Regions from separate parts of the Homo sapiens genome. Here regions 1, 3 and 4 are each linked to region 2. The links are contacts of gene promoters, found by promoter capture Hi-C in blood cells and fetal thymus (Javierre and others, 2016). All regions are on one chromosome and are shown on one strand. The core of a region is centred on a gene start or on the middle of the fragment in contact, and the rest is flanking DNA. Distances in the headings are between cores, read along the strand shown. Region 1 holds the start of LINC03057 (long intergenic non-protein coding RNA 3057). Region 2 holds the start of NFE2L1 (NFE2 like bZIP transcription factor 1). Region 3 holds the start of HOXB-AS4 (HOXB cluster antisense RNA 4). Region 4 holds the start of HOXB5 (homeobox B5).

Region 1 (3,752 bases), core at 997-3,496, 600 kb before region 2:
GCCATATACAACACCATGGATGAGTCCCACACAAGTAATACTGAGCAGATGAAGCCAGACAAAAGAATACATACTTATGTTTATATGAAGTTGAAGGATTAGACAAAACTAATCTATGGTGATAGAAAGCCAAATAATTGTTAGGGGGTATGGAGGGATTGACCAGAGAGCTATTGATTGGTAGGAGTTACAATGGGGCCTTCTGGTAAGCCGGAAACATCTTGATCTAGGTGGTGGTTACACAGATGGGATCTATGCAAAAATATATTGAGCCAGAGGTTTAATATTAGGTTCTATAATACTATATATCAACAAAAAGTGAAGAAAAAGTAGAAAAATAGACCCAAATAGAAAAAATTCTGGGGCCGGGCATGGTGGCTCACGCCTGTAATCCCAGCACTTTGGGAGGCTGAGGCGGGCGGATGACCTGAGGTAGGGAGTTCGAGACCAGCCTGACGAACTGGAGAAACCCCATCTCTACTAAAAATACAAAATTAGCTGGGCGTTGGCCGGGTGCAGTGGCTCATGCCTGTAATCTCAGCACTTTGGGAGGCTGAGGCGGGCGGATCACCTGAGGTCGGGAGTTCGAGACCAGCCTGACCAACATGGAGAAACCCCGTCTCTATTAAAAATACAAAAAATTAGCTGCGCATGGTGGCACATGCCTGTAATCCCAGCTACTAGGGAGGCTGAGGCAGGAGAACCCGGGAGGCAGAGGTTGCGGTGAGCTGGGATTGTGCCATTGCACTCCAGCCTGGGCAACAAGAGCGAAACTCTGTCTCAGAAAAAACAAACAAACAAAAAAACAAAAACAAAACAAAACAAAAACATTTTGGAAGCAAAATTTAGTTTTGTCATATTTCTATATTCATGTTTACGTGGATATAGAATAAAATTCCCATTTGGATGCATTTTTCTCTCAGCGGTTCAAGCTCAACAGAACCTGCAAATGAGAGGAGGCTGCAGAAGCAAAGCATAAGAAGACATATCATGGCTAGGAGCCGTGGCTCACACCTCTAATCCCAGCACTTTGGGAGGCTGAGGCAAGCGGATCACCTGACGTCAGGAGCCGAGACCAGCCTGGCCAACATGGTGAAAACCCGTCTCTACTAAAACTACACAAATTAGCTGGGCGTGGTGGCACACACCTGTGGTCCCAGCTACTCGGGAGGCTGAAGTGGGAGAATCGCTTGAACTCAAGAGGCGGAGGTTGCAGTGAGCCGAGATTGCACCATTGCACTCCAGCCTGGGTGACAGATCAAGACTTCATCTCAAAAAAGAAGACACATCAATCCTAAATCTAAATGTGGTACACACCTAGGAAGACACATCAACCTTAAATGTACACACCTAATAACAGAGCTTCAAAAATATATGAAGCACCGAAAATGATAGAATTGAAAGGAGAAATGGACAAATCCACAATTATAGTAAGATATTTCAACAGTTCTCACTTGGTAAAATCACTTGTAAAATCACTCTGCCCATTTTACAGAGGAAAAACTGAGGCCTAAAAGGAGAAGGGGTGGGGGCTGAAGTCAGTGGCAGAGCCAGGCTTAGGACACAGAGCTCAGGCACACCTCTACATGCCCCCTGGACAACCACCTGCAGGAAGGGACTGGATTGTGAGGGGGTGTCCCCAGTCCCATGCAGGTTGAGGAGGAAGCAGGGTCTCAGGGCTGAGGTCAGGGAGGGGGGGCACTCCTTAGAGACCAGACAGCCAGGAATGCCACTGTTTGTCGTAGTTTCACTGATTTTAAGGAGGTTAAACCTCTATTTGGGTCTCAGAAATAAAGAGAAGAGCCTGCAATTCCAGGATAGCACGCTAACGAAGGGCCAAAACGCAAAGGCGTCCTGAGGGCTAAGATGGAAAGTGAAACTTTCAAGCTCCTTCTCTAACCTTGGCCAAGGTCGTTCCCTCTGGGTTCATAGAATAGGGAGGAACCCATGTAAGGCACAGGGAACAGAAGAAAGGAGGCAGGTAGAGGGACAACCTTCAGCCTGGTGCAGCCATCCCGGTCGAACAACCCCAGGCAGGAGCCGCTCGGTGGCCGAGGATGGCGGGAAGTCGCTGGGCTGCGGCTGGGGCGGGAGGTGGGCGGAGGAGGGTCCGGCGCTCTCTTTCTCCGGATTCGGAGCCCTAAGTGTGGATCAGTCGCCTCCCGCCCAGGGTGTGAGCGCCCCCTCCCCTTCTCAGCCTCCTTCGGCCTCGCCCCTCCCTCTCACATTTCCAACTCCCAAGGATAACTTGTCGCTCGCTTCAGACGCCCATGGCTTCTTTCAGCCCCTGGGACTCAGCTTTCTCCTCTACCTCTTTTGTCTATTTGTGCATTTGATGTTTCTCTGGGCGCGCCCTTGGATCTGCTTCTCTCTTGCCTTTTATATTCTCATATTCTCATATTCTCTCTCTCTCTCTCTCTCTCTCTCTCTCTCTCCCTCCCTCCCTCCCTCCCTCTCTCCCTCCCTCTCTCCCTCTCTGCCTCTCTCCCTCTCTCTCTCTTCTCTCTCTCTCTCTCTTCTCTCTCTCTTCTCTCTCTCTCTGCTCTCTCCGGCCATCTGGGCGCTGCTCCTCCGCGCCTCTGGCCTCCCCGCGGCGCGCCAGGCCCATCTCCTCACCAGCCGCTCTGGGATCCGACGGCGCCGTGGGTGGGGGCAGGTGAGACGGCCGAGCCCCGCCCGGGCGGAGGCAGGAAGCGCTCTCGCCTATCCCCCTCCCGGACCCTGTCCTCGCCCGCCACTCACCGGCGCCAGGGGAACGCAGGAGCGTGAGCCCCTTCGCGCCCCCAGCGCCGTCGGCGTCGCTGCCCCAGACACAGACACTGCCTCGAGAGGCCTCACAGAGGCGGGGGCAGAAGGCGGCGACCCAGAGCCGCCACATCCCCCGCCTTGGGCGCCGTCACAGTCCCCAGACGCCCTGGACTCCTGCAGTCTACGAAGACGCGCGGGGGACGGCGTGGTTCCGAGAGGTAGGTGAGGAGGCGGGCGCAGCCCTTCCTCTCGCAGCTGGGGACTGCGGCGTGAAAGGCCCCTCTCCAAGCTGGGCAGCCCCGTGGCCCGAGCTTTCAGGACCAACCGCCCGTGGCAGGCGTGGGCTTCCCGGGGCCACCGGCTTAACCTTGATCTCCAGACCGAGGCAGCTTCCCGGGTAGGGCCTCGGGGCGCACCCGAAAACGCCTTGGCCTCCCTGTCCGCTGGCACCCGACCCTACCTCTCCAACAGGTGTGTGTGTGGGGAAAGGGGGTCGCCTCCCCTCGTTCTACCGGAAACCCTGGCTCCCCAGAGCCGAGTGCTCAGTGCCCCGCCCAGCCTGAGGCCCTGCGTCCTGGGCCTCCTGCTCACAACCCCGGATTCCAGGCGGATGCCGTGAGAGAGGCAAGGGCCAGACGCCCTGAGCAGCCTTGGGGGTGAGGAATCGCTTGGGATGGAAGAAGGGCCACTTTTCCTAACGGAAATTAGGAATTGGCCTGGAACTCTTGGTCTAGACAGAAGCCCCCAGCTCCCCAAGGTGCAGAATCAGCTCTCCCGCGCGCTGTCTCTCTAGCTGCCTCCTGGCGTGGAGGGGGCAGAATACTTGGGGGAGTCTCTTGCTTTGGCTTTTGGGGGCCTCATAGGTTTTCTTCCCCTCTGGACTGTGAGCAGCCTCCTGCCTGAGAGAGCGTGTATCTGAATCTAAGGAATGCCAGGAGACGCCATCTTATTTGAAACCCACACTCACAAAAACGGGGCATGTGCATTTTTGTGGAGGGACCTGT
Region 2 (3,461 bases), core at 844-3,343:
GCTAGAGTGCAGTGGCGTGATCTGTGCTCACTGCAACCTCCACCTTCTGCATTCAAGCGATTCTCCTGCCTCAGCCTCCCAAGTATCTGGGATTACAGGCGCCTGCCACCACGCCCTGCTAATTTTTGTATTTTTAGTAGAGATGGGGTTTCACTATGTTGGCCAGGCTGGTCTCAAGCTCCTGACCTCAGGTGATCTGCCCGCCTCGGCCCCCCAAAGTGCTGGGATCACAGGCGTGAGCCACTGTGCCTGGCCTAAAGGCCACTTTTACAGGAAGAAAGGACTACTTACACTCTCAGAAAAAAAACCCAAAATATAGCAACCGATCATAGAAGAACTATCAAAGAAAGCTACTGATCACGAATGATCTCAGTTACTGAATATTAAATGTGCAATATCCTAAAATGTAGCTTGGTTTGAATAAGCAGACAATAACCAGGTCATCCAAAATATCTTACACCTTTGTTTTATTTACCAGCCCTCCTCCCCCACTACAGGCGCATTACCCAGCTTCTATTTTCACATGAGAAGCCCATTTCCTGTCTTAAAAGTAAAGCTGGATTTTCACCCCTCGGGAGAAAACCACCCATAACAGTTGTCTTTTCTCAGTTCAAAAAGGCAAGATTATTAAACAGTGAGAGTGTGGAAGGACAAAAGGACAATGTTCAGGCCACCACTTCACCCAGAAGAAGAATGCCTTTTGTTTTCTGAACTTTGAAATCTGATTTCCCTTTCCTATCCTCACAACTTACAAAAGAAAAAAAAGGAAAAGGGCCGACGCCTGTAATCCCAGCACTTCGGGAGGCCGAGGAGGGCGGATCACCCGAGGTCGGGAGTTTGAGACCAGCCTGAACAACATGGAGAAACCCCATCTCAACTAAAAATACAAAAATTAGCCGGGCGTGGTGGCGCATGCCTGTAATCCCAGCTACTCGGGAGGCTGAGACAGGAGAATCGCTTGAACCCAGGAAACGGAGGTTGTGGTGGGCCGATATCGCGCCACTGCACTCCAGCCTGGGCAACAAGAGCAAAACTCCGTCTCAAAAAAAGAAAAAAAAGAAAGAAAAGAAAAGGAAAGAAAAAAAGGAGAGGGATGGTGGGGGCCCTACTACGCAGGACTATTCCGTCCAGAATTTGCATAGGCAGGTTTTATTTTCATTCATATGACCTTCTGAGCCAAAGCAGAAGGATATGGCCACGTTCTCTAGCCAGACTGCCCAGTGCAGAGGAAGTAAATCTGTTTCTGGTCTCCACTTTTGAGCTTCCATTAATGTCACAAACCAAGACATACCGCCTCTCCTCTCCTGCGTTGTGACCCATCTACCAACTTCATTCTACAGGGGGAGAGCGAGCTATACGTACACACACGAACGTGCGCACACACACACACTCACACTCCCTCTCTCTGGTCAGAGTAAACACAATTGCGACCCAGAATTCCTGCTTACGCTACCCTCCCGTTCTCACGCAATTTATTACTAAAACCTCCCAGGAGCCAATTAAGTTCGAGGAACCGGACAAAGTCCCTTAAAAATCAAGTAGGTGCAGGGCCCATAGCCTGAGGCTGGTCCCACCCTGCCCGGATACCCGAGTCCGGCTGAGACCAAGTCGCCATGCCCACTCTCGGCGCCGGAGCTTCTAGCCTCCAGGGGCGGCCAGCGAACAAGTGCTACTTCCCTGGCCTTGACCCACCCTTACAGCAAACCCCACCCCGCCCTCCGTCCCGATGGCCCCACCCCACTCCCAAGTCCAGGCCTCACACCACGCCTTCTCGTGCCCTCAACCCTGCCCAGTCCATCCCACCCCGGAGCCAGCTTTCCTCTCGGCCCCGCGCGGGGCCCCTCCCTGTCAGGCCCAGGGCCGGGCTCTGGCGGGAACCCCGCTCGGCCCCCGCCTCCTGCACCTCAGCACCATCCCGTCGCCCCATAAGCCTCGGCCCCGCGGCGCTGCAACCCTCCCTTCTGGGAAAGGAATGTGCCCGATACCCACTGCTTAGCTCGGCGTCCGCCGCTGCCTCCACAGCAGGCCCTAAGCCCGAGTCCCGGCCTCGCCGCCGCCACCGCCGGCCGGCCTAGAGCTCGGAGCCTCCGCTTACCTCCCCGCCCCCTCCTGCTACCGCACTCGGAAACCCGCCCGCCGCAAACACCCTAGGAACAGTTTCTCCAATCAACGAGCCGAGGCCGGGGCCGTCGACGGATGTCCCTCTGATTGGCAGCAGAGAGGGCCCAATGGCTGAGTGTACCTCCTCATCCCCGGACCTGATTTCCCAAGACTGACATAATTCCCGGCCCAATGAGTACCTAGGCCCGCCCCGCGGTATGGACCCACCAATGAGGAGGGCGAAGGCCCTAGTGTCTGGCATTCTGGGCCCCTCGGCCGCGCCTTCGCGGCGGGCGATGTTAGTGGGCTTGGGCGTTGGGTGAAGTATCCAGGTTGGGCGCTTCCAGCGCTTTCTGTGGCGGGGGAATGAAGGCCTAGGTCAGGGAATAGGAAGGTGTATCGCCGCCAGAGTGCGGAACACCCTCGCCTTGAGGGTTCCCACAGTGACTTGCAAAAGTCTAGTGAGACCCGAGAATGCTGAGGCGGGACACGAAGCATGTGGTTCTTGTGGTTGCGACGCTCGTGCCGCCATCTTGGGTGCTGGCGGCGGAAACCGGTACCCCAACTTCCCCTCGGTGCGAACCTGGAGAAGCCACCCCAGCTGTGAGGGACGGTTGCGCCTCATGGCCCAGGCAAGGGTACCTTCGCTGGAGCAGTACCGCGGACGGATATCATGAGGGTGGTGGGACGTTGGCGGAACGTTGGCGGAACGTTGGCGGTGTGAGAGGTGTGGGGTAATGGCGATTTTTGTCATGGTAGAAACAGCCCAAAGGACCCCCCTCGTTTGGCCTCCCACGCAGCTTAGTCTTGCTTTTTTAGGGATGTTTCTCATTTTTTAATTTCTCCAGTCCCATCTGGTTATATTGCCAAAACATGTTTGTGACTCTCAAACGTTAGTTTACTCCCAGCATCACTTGGGGAGCTTGCTAAGCTACGAATTCCGAGGTCCCACTGGAGAGTCTGATTTAATGACCCTGGAGTGGCGGCCGGATAACCTGCCTGCTGGGGTGATTTTAACGCAGCTGATGCGAAGACCCCATTTAGGGAATCATTGGGTTGGCGTTTGCAATGCGTTCCTCCCAGCTATAGGACAAAGAGGTGTCAACTCAACTGTGTCTTCTTAGAAGAGCCCATTATTTATAGGTGAGTCATTAGTCCCTGTACAACTAAGGACAAGGCCAACTGATAACTCAGTAAATAATCGAGTCCATTTTGTGCTTGCGAGTTAGGGGCTTAATTTGGGGTGGTTTGCAGATTAAGTACTTTCACTGCATATAATAAACGTACACCAGCAAACCACTCATGGAATTCTTAAAAAAACTTCTGAGCTAGTTTACCAGTTTCAAAGACTAATTCAGAGA
Region 3 (3,731 bases), core at 45-2,544, 580 kb before region 2:
AGCAACAAGGATGTTCCCCCAGAGAAGAGATCTGGGAAGTGTCTTCCCACTTCTGAATGTTTTTTTGTGTGTGTGTTAGGAGGGGAAGGGGGATGAGGAGCAGTCAACTCTCCCGAGGCACCTCCCTGGCCCTGTTGGGCTGTTCAGCCCAACCCAAAGATGGCAGTCAGAGCTCCAACTTCCAGCCTTAGGGTCTCTGAGCTCTCAACTACATCCAGAACTTTCCAGAGAAACTCTCCCCAACTTCACAAATATTTGATTTCAAAAGAAATGCAGGGGGTTCTTGAGGTTTTTGTAACTCTTTGCGGGCTGGTGCTCCACCTCAGCAGGAAGCTTCAGGTCCTTGAAGAGGGCTCAGTAGGTCTCATTCTGAAAGGCAAACACTGAGAGCTCTTGCAATCTCAGCCTAAAGCCCTCAGGGTCCTGTCGAAGGCCCCCTATGGGACCAGACCTACAGAAGTAGGTCCGAAAAGTCCTTCCTTTCCTAATCCCTCAGTTGACTTTTTCCTCCCCACCCACCCCAGTGGCCAAAGGCTTCCCACTGGCCTTGGGCTGGGCTGGGGGTACACATAGGTCCTGAGTGCCACCTCCTTGGAGAGGGGCCTGACTTGCAAGCTAATGGGGAGCCCAGGTTGTTGGACAATTCAACCCCGACTGATGCAGTGACAAGGGATGAAACCAGGGGTTGGGCAGGGCAAGACTCTGATACCCTCTCTGACCTCGGTCCTCTTAAGGCTGTTGGCCCTGTGCCCAGGAAAGGAATAACTAGAAGTGCTGGTGGAAGAAGGGGGACTTTCCAAAGCATAAGCTAACTTTTGTTCCCAAACCTTCCCCCTGCTGCTTGAGGCAGAGGAAATGTGCAAAGGGGCCCGGGAAAGAGGCCCGACCGGATGGGGCTTCGGCGCCAGGCTGACTTGGAGGGCCAGGGGGTCTCTGAACAAGGGGCTTCTGCTAGAGCAGAGGGGCATTAGGGAGACCCACCCCTAGCCTAGGGGAAATGGAGCCTTCAACCCACTGTCCTGATAAGCAAAGGCTAACAACTCTGTCCCTTGACAGTTTCTCATCCTCTGGTCTGGGTGGAGATGGCCTGGCGCGTCCCTGCGGCCTTATCTCACTTCTCCCTGGGCCTCTCACAAACCTGCCCAGTCACTCAGAGCCTGACTGTCTTCCATCCCTGGTGTCCCTTGGCCACCCCCTCCCAGGAAAAGTGCTGTAAAAAGAAAAAAGGAGAATGTTAGAGAGAAAGGAGGAAATAAAGTCTTTGGAAAGCAGAGTTTTACAACAGCCACAGGTTTTATGGAAGCAATTTCGTAATAACCTTCTACCTGCTCGCCTCCTTTCCGCCTGCCTGCCGCCCACCCCGTTTGGCCTCCTGGATGCCCCCTCCCAAGGAGTCAGCCACCCCCATCGCCTTGGATATCCTTGATGGCTGAGAGTTGGTAAGAAGATTCCTGAGGTGGGCTTGGGCCACTGACCTCTCAGTCCTTCCTTTCACCTCTGACATCCTGGGAGGGAGGTTTGGCAGAAGATTTCATTACTTCACAATTAAGATCCCCACTTGGGGGGTGTGGAAGCACCGAGATTTGAACCTGAGTATGCAGATTCGATGTGATACCTGTTTTGGAGGCCGTTTTGCATAAAGGGTAAGGATTTTGCGATCTTGTGTCCTTTCCCACTGGGGCAAGTGTCCTCATGCCTCACTCTTTCCCAGAGTGGGTCTGGACTGTGATCTTGAGTCTGAAGAAATACCTCTGGTGCTTGGAGACATAGATTTGGGGACTTTTCTAATTTTGTTGTACACAGCAGTGCTTTTGCTTGACCTCCACAGTCACTTTCACACTCGGCTCATCTCTGTCCACCTCTGCTTCATAATTCTGTGAGACACATGTGCTTATAAGTAACTGTGCCTCCACCCCCGCGCTCATCGCTGTCATGAAATAGGCATCACACAATGCACACCGTCCCTGCGGTCTTGGGTAAGAAACACAGTAAAGGATTTTATGGTCAAACAAAGAAGTCACAAAATTTCATAACCTCTTCTGGGCCACTTTGAAGCATTTATTTTACCTTCCAGAGAAACATTTTGGAAAGAAGTTGTCGTAGAATCAACGTAGTGTTAAGTCATATGCACTTGTTTGAGGATACGCTGTATATTTTGCTTGAATATCAAGTCAAGGGACAGATTTTCAAGTGCGACATCTGAATTAGCTAATATTTTATAGCCATAATTCAAGTACACAAATACCCAAGCTTTTGCCTTTTCCATAGGTGTGTGATGGTTATAAAAATGTACACACAACCTTTTGGGTAACTGATCTTCTTACACGAGCAGAATCAGAAACCTCCATCACTCACAGAGGTTATGCATGCATCCACATATGCACGATTAGATCCTGCATACACGAACGCCCAAGCACAGCAAGTTTCATAGTTGGGCAGATTTATTTATTACATATTCTATATACAGTATAGAGCAGAGTGCATTTGCACACTGGGTTCCCCATACAGAAATATTGATTTGAAATATACATATAGGACACACACATCTATTTACATTAAACACGCGTAAATTTCAGCTAAGCTTATTAATTAAAAACAAACTATTTTTCCCCATTCTCACTTATTGTTTTTCTTTCTTCTCCCATTTCCTTCCCTTCCTCTAGATTTTCTCTCTCTTCTTACTGACAAGGACCCTTCCAAAAGTCACCCCCACAGCATAGGCACTCACCGGCTGGTCGGCCTCTGCTCTTCAAACCTCGGCCTCACTGTTGGCTGCTCTGGGCCCCAGTGTGGCCAGGAGCTGCGCTTTTTTCCCTGCTTGCCCTTCTCCAAGCTACCAGCTACTGGCCCCAGCTGTGTTCAGGCGAGGCTCCAGTGCAGGGAATGGCAAAAGGCTGCAAGGGAAGGCAGGGTTTTCCTTCTTTCTGTTTAGGATTGGGGGTGGGGTATGGAGCAGTTTTGCTCTCTTAGGATAAGGTGACCCCCACTGAAGCAACCCCTTTACTAAGTGTCTTTGGAAGCTGGGCTCCAGGAGCCACAATCCTGTTTGCTATCCTCCTTCATGGTGGGTACCATTGTCTGGGGAGAAAACAAGGCTTTTTTGGTGGGAGGGAGTCCACAGTCTCTCAGCTGACCCTTTAATCATTTGCCTGAGCTGGAGTTGAACTCCAGTTTGGGGCAGCAGTGCTTTCCAGAAAGCTTGGCTGGGGTGGGACTCCTTGCTTGGTGCATTTACCTGGACGGCAAAGAGCTGGGATGCAGACTACAGGGCTTAGGGGCCAGTTCATTCTCTTTCCTCTGGAGTCATTGCTCCCTGAGAAGACCAAGACCTCCAAAACCTGTCATTTTAAAATTGTCTCCACTCTCCAGCTTCTTCATGAGCAAAGGCTAAGTTCCGATCTCAGAAAAGAGGCCTAAGTCCCCTTCTCACCCAGCACTCAGGAGCCACCAGGGAATAAAGGGCAACTCCTCAGACAGACAGCAACCCACAAACCCAAATCTTGTCTGCTGGGAGAACTCACCCTTGTAGAGCACAAGCCATCAGCCCAAGTGTTCTTCTTCCTCTAACTTCTTCCCTAAACTGAGTGGTCCTCTTGACTCCTCTCTTGTTGCAGAGAGGCAGCTGCAAAGTCAGGGCAGGAGAGGGAAGGGGAACCAGGAAGACGGCAGTCAGAGCGCAGTGCCTGCTTTGCTTGGGTCTTAAGGACAGCCCAGCGCTGTGACTTTTCAAT
Region 4 (3,670 bases), core at 766-3,265, 540 kb before region 2:
TTGATCTTCTCATCCAAAGTTAAAATAATAACGACAATGATGATGTAGGGAGAAAGAACCAAATAGAGAGGCTAACCCCACCCACAAGAAAGTGGGTAAAAAGCCCAACCCCTGCTCTAAAAGGCTCAACCCTGTGGCTGAGCCTTGGCCGGGTTTCTTTCTCTCCCGGCGACTGCAGGGAGCCTGCAGGGAGCCAGCAGGGAGGCAGCCGCCCGCCGCCATGGCGGTCTCACGCCCGCGCTCCCGTCGGTCGCCGGGAGGTGGCGCGCTCTGCTCAGAGGCCAAAGCCAACCTTCTCTCTGTTTCTCCCCCTTCTCCTTTTTTCCCCCTCTCTCGGAGGCTCGCATTGAATCGGCCCTAACGATTCTCGGATCGTCATTATTTGTAACCATAGAGCATGAATTACCTCTTGAGGTCATCAGCGAGAATTTACGACTGGTCAACAAAAGCACGTGATTCCCTAACGCCCCCCACCCCCCTTCCAACCCCCCCCCCATATTTGGCCGCATACATAGCAAAACGAAGTACAGTGCATCGCTATAATTCATTAATACATCATAAATCGTGAAGCACAGGGTTATAACGACCACGATCCACAAATCAAGCCCTCCAAAATCACCCAAATGAGCTCGTACTTTGTAAACTCCTTCTCGGGGCGTTATCCAAATGGCCCGGACTATCAGTTGCTAAATTATGGCAGTGGCAGCTCTCTGAGCGGCTCTTACAGGGATCCCGCTGCCATGCACACCGGCTCTTACGGCTACAATTACAATGGGATGGACCTCAGCGTCAACCGCTCCTCGGCCTCCTCCAGCCACTTTGGGGCGGTGGGCGAGAGCTCGCGCGCCTTCCCCGCGCCCGCCCAGGAGCCCCGCTTCAGGCAAGCGGCTTCGAGCTGCTCCCTGTCCTCGCCCGAGTCCCTGCCCTGCACCAACGGCGACAGCCACGGCGCCAAGCCCTCTGCTTCGTCCCCCTCCGACCAGGCGACCTCAGCCAGCTCCAGCGCCAATTTCACCGAAATAGACGAGGCCAGCGCGTCCTCGGAGCCTGAGGAAGCGGCAAGCCAGCTAAGCAGCCCCAGCCTAGCTCGGGCGCAGCCAGAGCCCATGGCCACCTCCACAGCCGCGCCCGAGGGGCAGACTCCGCAAATATTCCCCTGGATGAGGAAGCTTCACATCAGCCATGGTAATTCTCTCTCTCTTTTTTGTCTTCTCGGCTTTCCTTCTCTGCGTTTTGGGGTGGGATCGGGGGGACAAGGAGAGCTTGGCTTTACCCTAAATATAGATTCATTTTTCTAAGGGGGAGAAGTATCTAAGAGGGGCCTCATAGCTTCGTAGACAGAGCCAAAAAGGGTCTCTCTGTTAAGAGGGGGGTATTTTTAATAATTTGTTTCCAGCTTCGGCTTAGGTTTTTATTAGCGCAGCTGAACCAGCTTTAGGATAAAGGATGGGGTTCATATAATGTGGGGAAGGGTCCTGCTTACCCCTGAAATTTTGAGACTGTCGCTAGCAAAGAAGGGGTGAACAGTAAAAGGAGCTTTCCGGGGCAAAAGTGCAACCGCTCTCCTCCCTCCCGGGGCGAGCGGCCGCCTGAGCCCAGCCAAGGGTGAGGCACTAGGAGCGAGCAAGAGACAAAGCCGGGCGCACTGGCTGCCTGCAGAAGTGGGGGATGCAGTAGAAAGGGGTGCAGAAATCGAGCTTGAATGTGGGCATCTGGAGTAGAGAGGATTGGAGCTGTGGTGAGCTGGGTGCCGGGACGCCTGGGTCCTGCTCCCCCGCCCCCTCCCACCCAGTGCCCCCTCCCTTAACCGGAATAATGTTGCCTTGCGGCTTTCCTCTATCTGCTCCAGATATGACCGGGCCGGACGGGAAAAGGGCCCGGACCGCGTATACCCGCTACCAGACCCTGGAGCTGGAAAAGGAGTTCCACTTCAACCGCTACCTGACCCGGCGACGGCGCATCGAGATCGCCCACGCACTCTGCCTGTCCGAGCGCCAGATCAAGATCTGGTTCCAGAACCGGCGCATGAAGTGGAAGAAGGACAACAAATTGAAAAGTATGAGCCTGGCTACAGCTGGCAGCGCCTTCCAGCCCTGAGCCCGCCCAGAGGAGCCCAGCGGCCCAAGAGCCCGTGCCACCCCCAGCCCTGGCCCCTCCAATCCTCCCCGCTCTGCCGCCGCCCGCTGGGGACCGGTTCCCACAAGCCTGCCTCGCCTTGTGTTACGATATTTCGTTTGGTCTTAGGTCTTCCTGTGGCTCCCTCTCTCCTGGACTGGTTATCTTGTTATTATTGTTAATAATAATTATTATTATTATTTTCCTTCCATGCTCCCAACTCCCTTCTGCTTGTCCCAAATCCGCCAGTGTTTCTGAATGTTTGTGTCTGTGGTTGCAGTCTTTCCCCCAGGAAAAAAAAAAAAAGAAATTCGCATGTTTAATGTGAACTCTCCCCTCCCCATCTGTGTTCTAACTTATTTATAAAAAGATGATCGCTGTATTTTGAGTTTCAGCTGGAAACTTCTGTAAGGGGCAGCAGTTGAGGTGGGGTAGTGCCGCAGTGGGGTCAAGCTGAGCTGGCTTCGGAGATGGAGTCCCTTTTCATTCTCCTCCTCCTCCCTCCTCACTCCCTAGGCCCAAGTCTCCTAGGGGCTTGGTCCTAGGGTGGGAAGGGGCTAGGGAGGACCAAAGGGATGGTATTGAGAAGAGAGAAAGAAGATAGTGAGATTTAAGTTCCTGCTGCCTGGGTAGGCCCCACAAGGCCTGGTCTGGGAGTATACGGAAACAAAAATGATCCTCAGTGCAAAATGTCTTGTGTATTTCTCTGTGAATCCATGGGTCTGGCTAGAGGGCCCAAAGCTTGTAAATATGGGGATAGTCTGGGTCAGACCCATCTCTCCCTTACCCATCTTGCTTCCAAGACCATTTGTAGTGAGCGAGTGGATGCTGTGCTACGTGTGAAATCTGTCTTTGCGGGGCCTGTCTCAGTGATTCGCTTTTGGTATTTGTTTGTAGCTTTCCTGGAAGTCAAATAAATGTTTCCCCCACTCCATTGCCCTTCCACTTGTCTTTTCTCCGAGGGGTCTGCCTCTCCCATCCCGGGCACACCCTGCACCATTCTCAATAGATCTGGGGTGCAGGGAAGAAAAAGTAGGCTGCTCCCCAACAACTCTTCTCAGCCATGTAAGTCACTGGCTTGGTCAACAGTGCTTGGGCCAGGGAACAGACCTTCATGCCTGGGGGACTCCAAGGCCCAGAAACCCCATGTGGGGCTGGGGCAGAGGAAAGGCTGAGCTAGACTTCATCCTGGTCTTCCACTAGCTGGCCAAGGAAGCCTCTGGAAAACTCTTCTGGGAAAGTAATTTGGGCCTAAGTCCTCAGCAGGAGGCTCCTGGCCTTTTGGGAGTGGTAGAGGCCTGCCCAGCCCCCTGTCTCCTACTCCAAGTCCCAATTCAGCTCTGCCACCAACTAAAGCAAAAAAAAAAAAAAAAAAAATTCAGCTGGATTTCAAAGGATTTCTCTCACCCTCAGCCTTCCCTACCCTTATCAAGGGCTCCTTCTCTCCAAGGGCCCAACTGATCTTCCCTCTTGATTAGGAGTTAGGGTCCTTTCAGAAAGACCCCTGGTTCCCTTTCAGCCTGGCCCAGGGCTAGGGCCCAGTCTACCTCCATCC

What was found. The method cuts DNA at HindIII sites, captures the fragments that hold promoters and counts their contacts. A CHiCAGO score of 5 or more calls a contact.
Region 1: a contact is called between a fragment that was not itself captured here and the fragment with the promoter of NFE2L1 in region 2, in 2 of 17 cell types (naive CD8 T cells and total CD4 T cells). The highest score is 5.4, in naive CD8 T cells.
Region 3: a contact is called between a fragment that was not itself captured here and the fragment with the promoter of NFE2L1 in region 2, in 1 of 17 cell types (total CD8 T cells). The highest score is 5.4, in total CD8 T cells.
Region 4: a fragment that was not itself captured here is called in contact with the fragment with the promoter of NFE2L1 in region 2 in 1 of 17 cell types (total CD8 T cells); the score reaches 5.1 in total CD8 T cells.

What each region holds. Positions count from the first base shown.
Region 1 is chr17:48,645,819-48,649,570 of GRCh38, reverse strand. It overlaps LINC03057 (long intergenic non-protein coding RNA 3057), which reads left to right and starts at 2,719. Exons shown (of 2, transcript NR_186590.1): 1 at 2,719-2,966. It overlaps LINC02086 (long intergenic non-protein coding RNA 2086), which reads right to left. Exons shown (of 8, transcript NR_189645.1): 1 at 3,209-3,752. RefSeq lists enhancers at 1,926-2,135, 3,026-3,075, 2,514-3,182 and a silencer at 2,626-2,805. The HindIII fragment of the contact is 5,086 bases long and covers 1-3,752 here.
Region 2 is chr17:48,046,991-48,050,451 of GRCh38, reverse strand. It overlaps NFE2L1 (NFE2 like bZIP transcription factor 1), which reads right to left and starts at 2,093. Exons shown (of 6, transcript NM_003204.3): 1 at 1,990-2,093. It overlaps NFE2L1-DT (NFE2L1 divergent transcript), which reads left to right and starts at 2,399. Exons shown (of 2, transcript NR_170231.1): 1 at 2,399-2,827. It also overlaps a transcript of COPZ2 not described here. RefSeq lists a silencer at 1,684-1,963 and enhancers at 1,514-2,115, 2,374-2,613, 2,116-2,717, 2,684-2,873, 2,718-3,321. The HindIII fragment of the contact is 11,044 bases long and covers 1-3,461 here.
Region 3 is chr17:48,628,649-48,632,379 of GRCh38, reverse strand. HOXB-AS4 (HOXB cluster antisense RNA 4) reads right to left here and starts at 3,682. Exons shown (of 2, transcript NR_046611.1): 1 at 3,522-3,682. The HindIII fragment of the contact is 1,917 bases long and covers 336-2,252 here.
Region 4 is chr17:48,590,636-48,594,305 of GRCh38, reverse strand. It overlaps HOXB5 (homeobox B5), which reads left to right and starts at 527. Exons shown (of 2, transcript NM_002147.4): 1 at 527-1,185; 2 at 1,850-3,049. The coding sequence starts at 624. The coding sequence ends at 2,097. All of the region lies in intron 1 of HOXB-AS3 (HOXB cluster antisense RNA 3), which reads right to left. RefSeq lists enhancers at 1-89, 319-388, 90-597 and a silencer at 854-903. The HindIII fragment of the contact is 1,687 bases long and covers 1,172-2,858 here.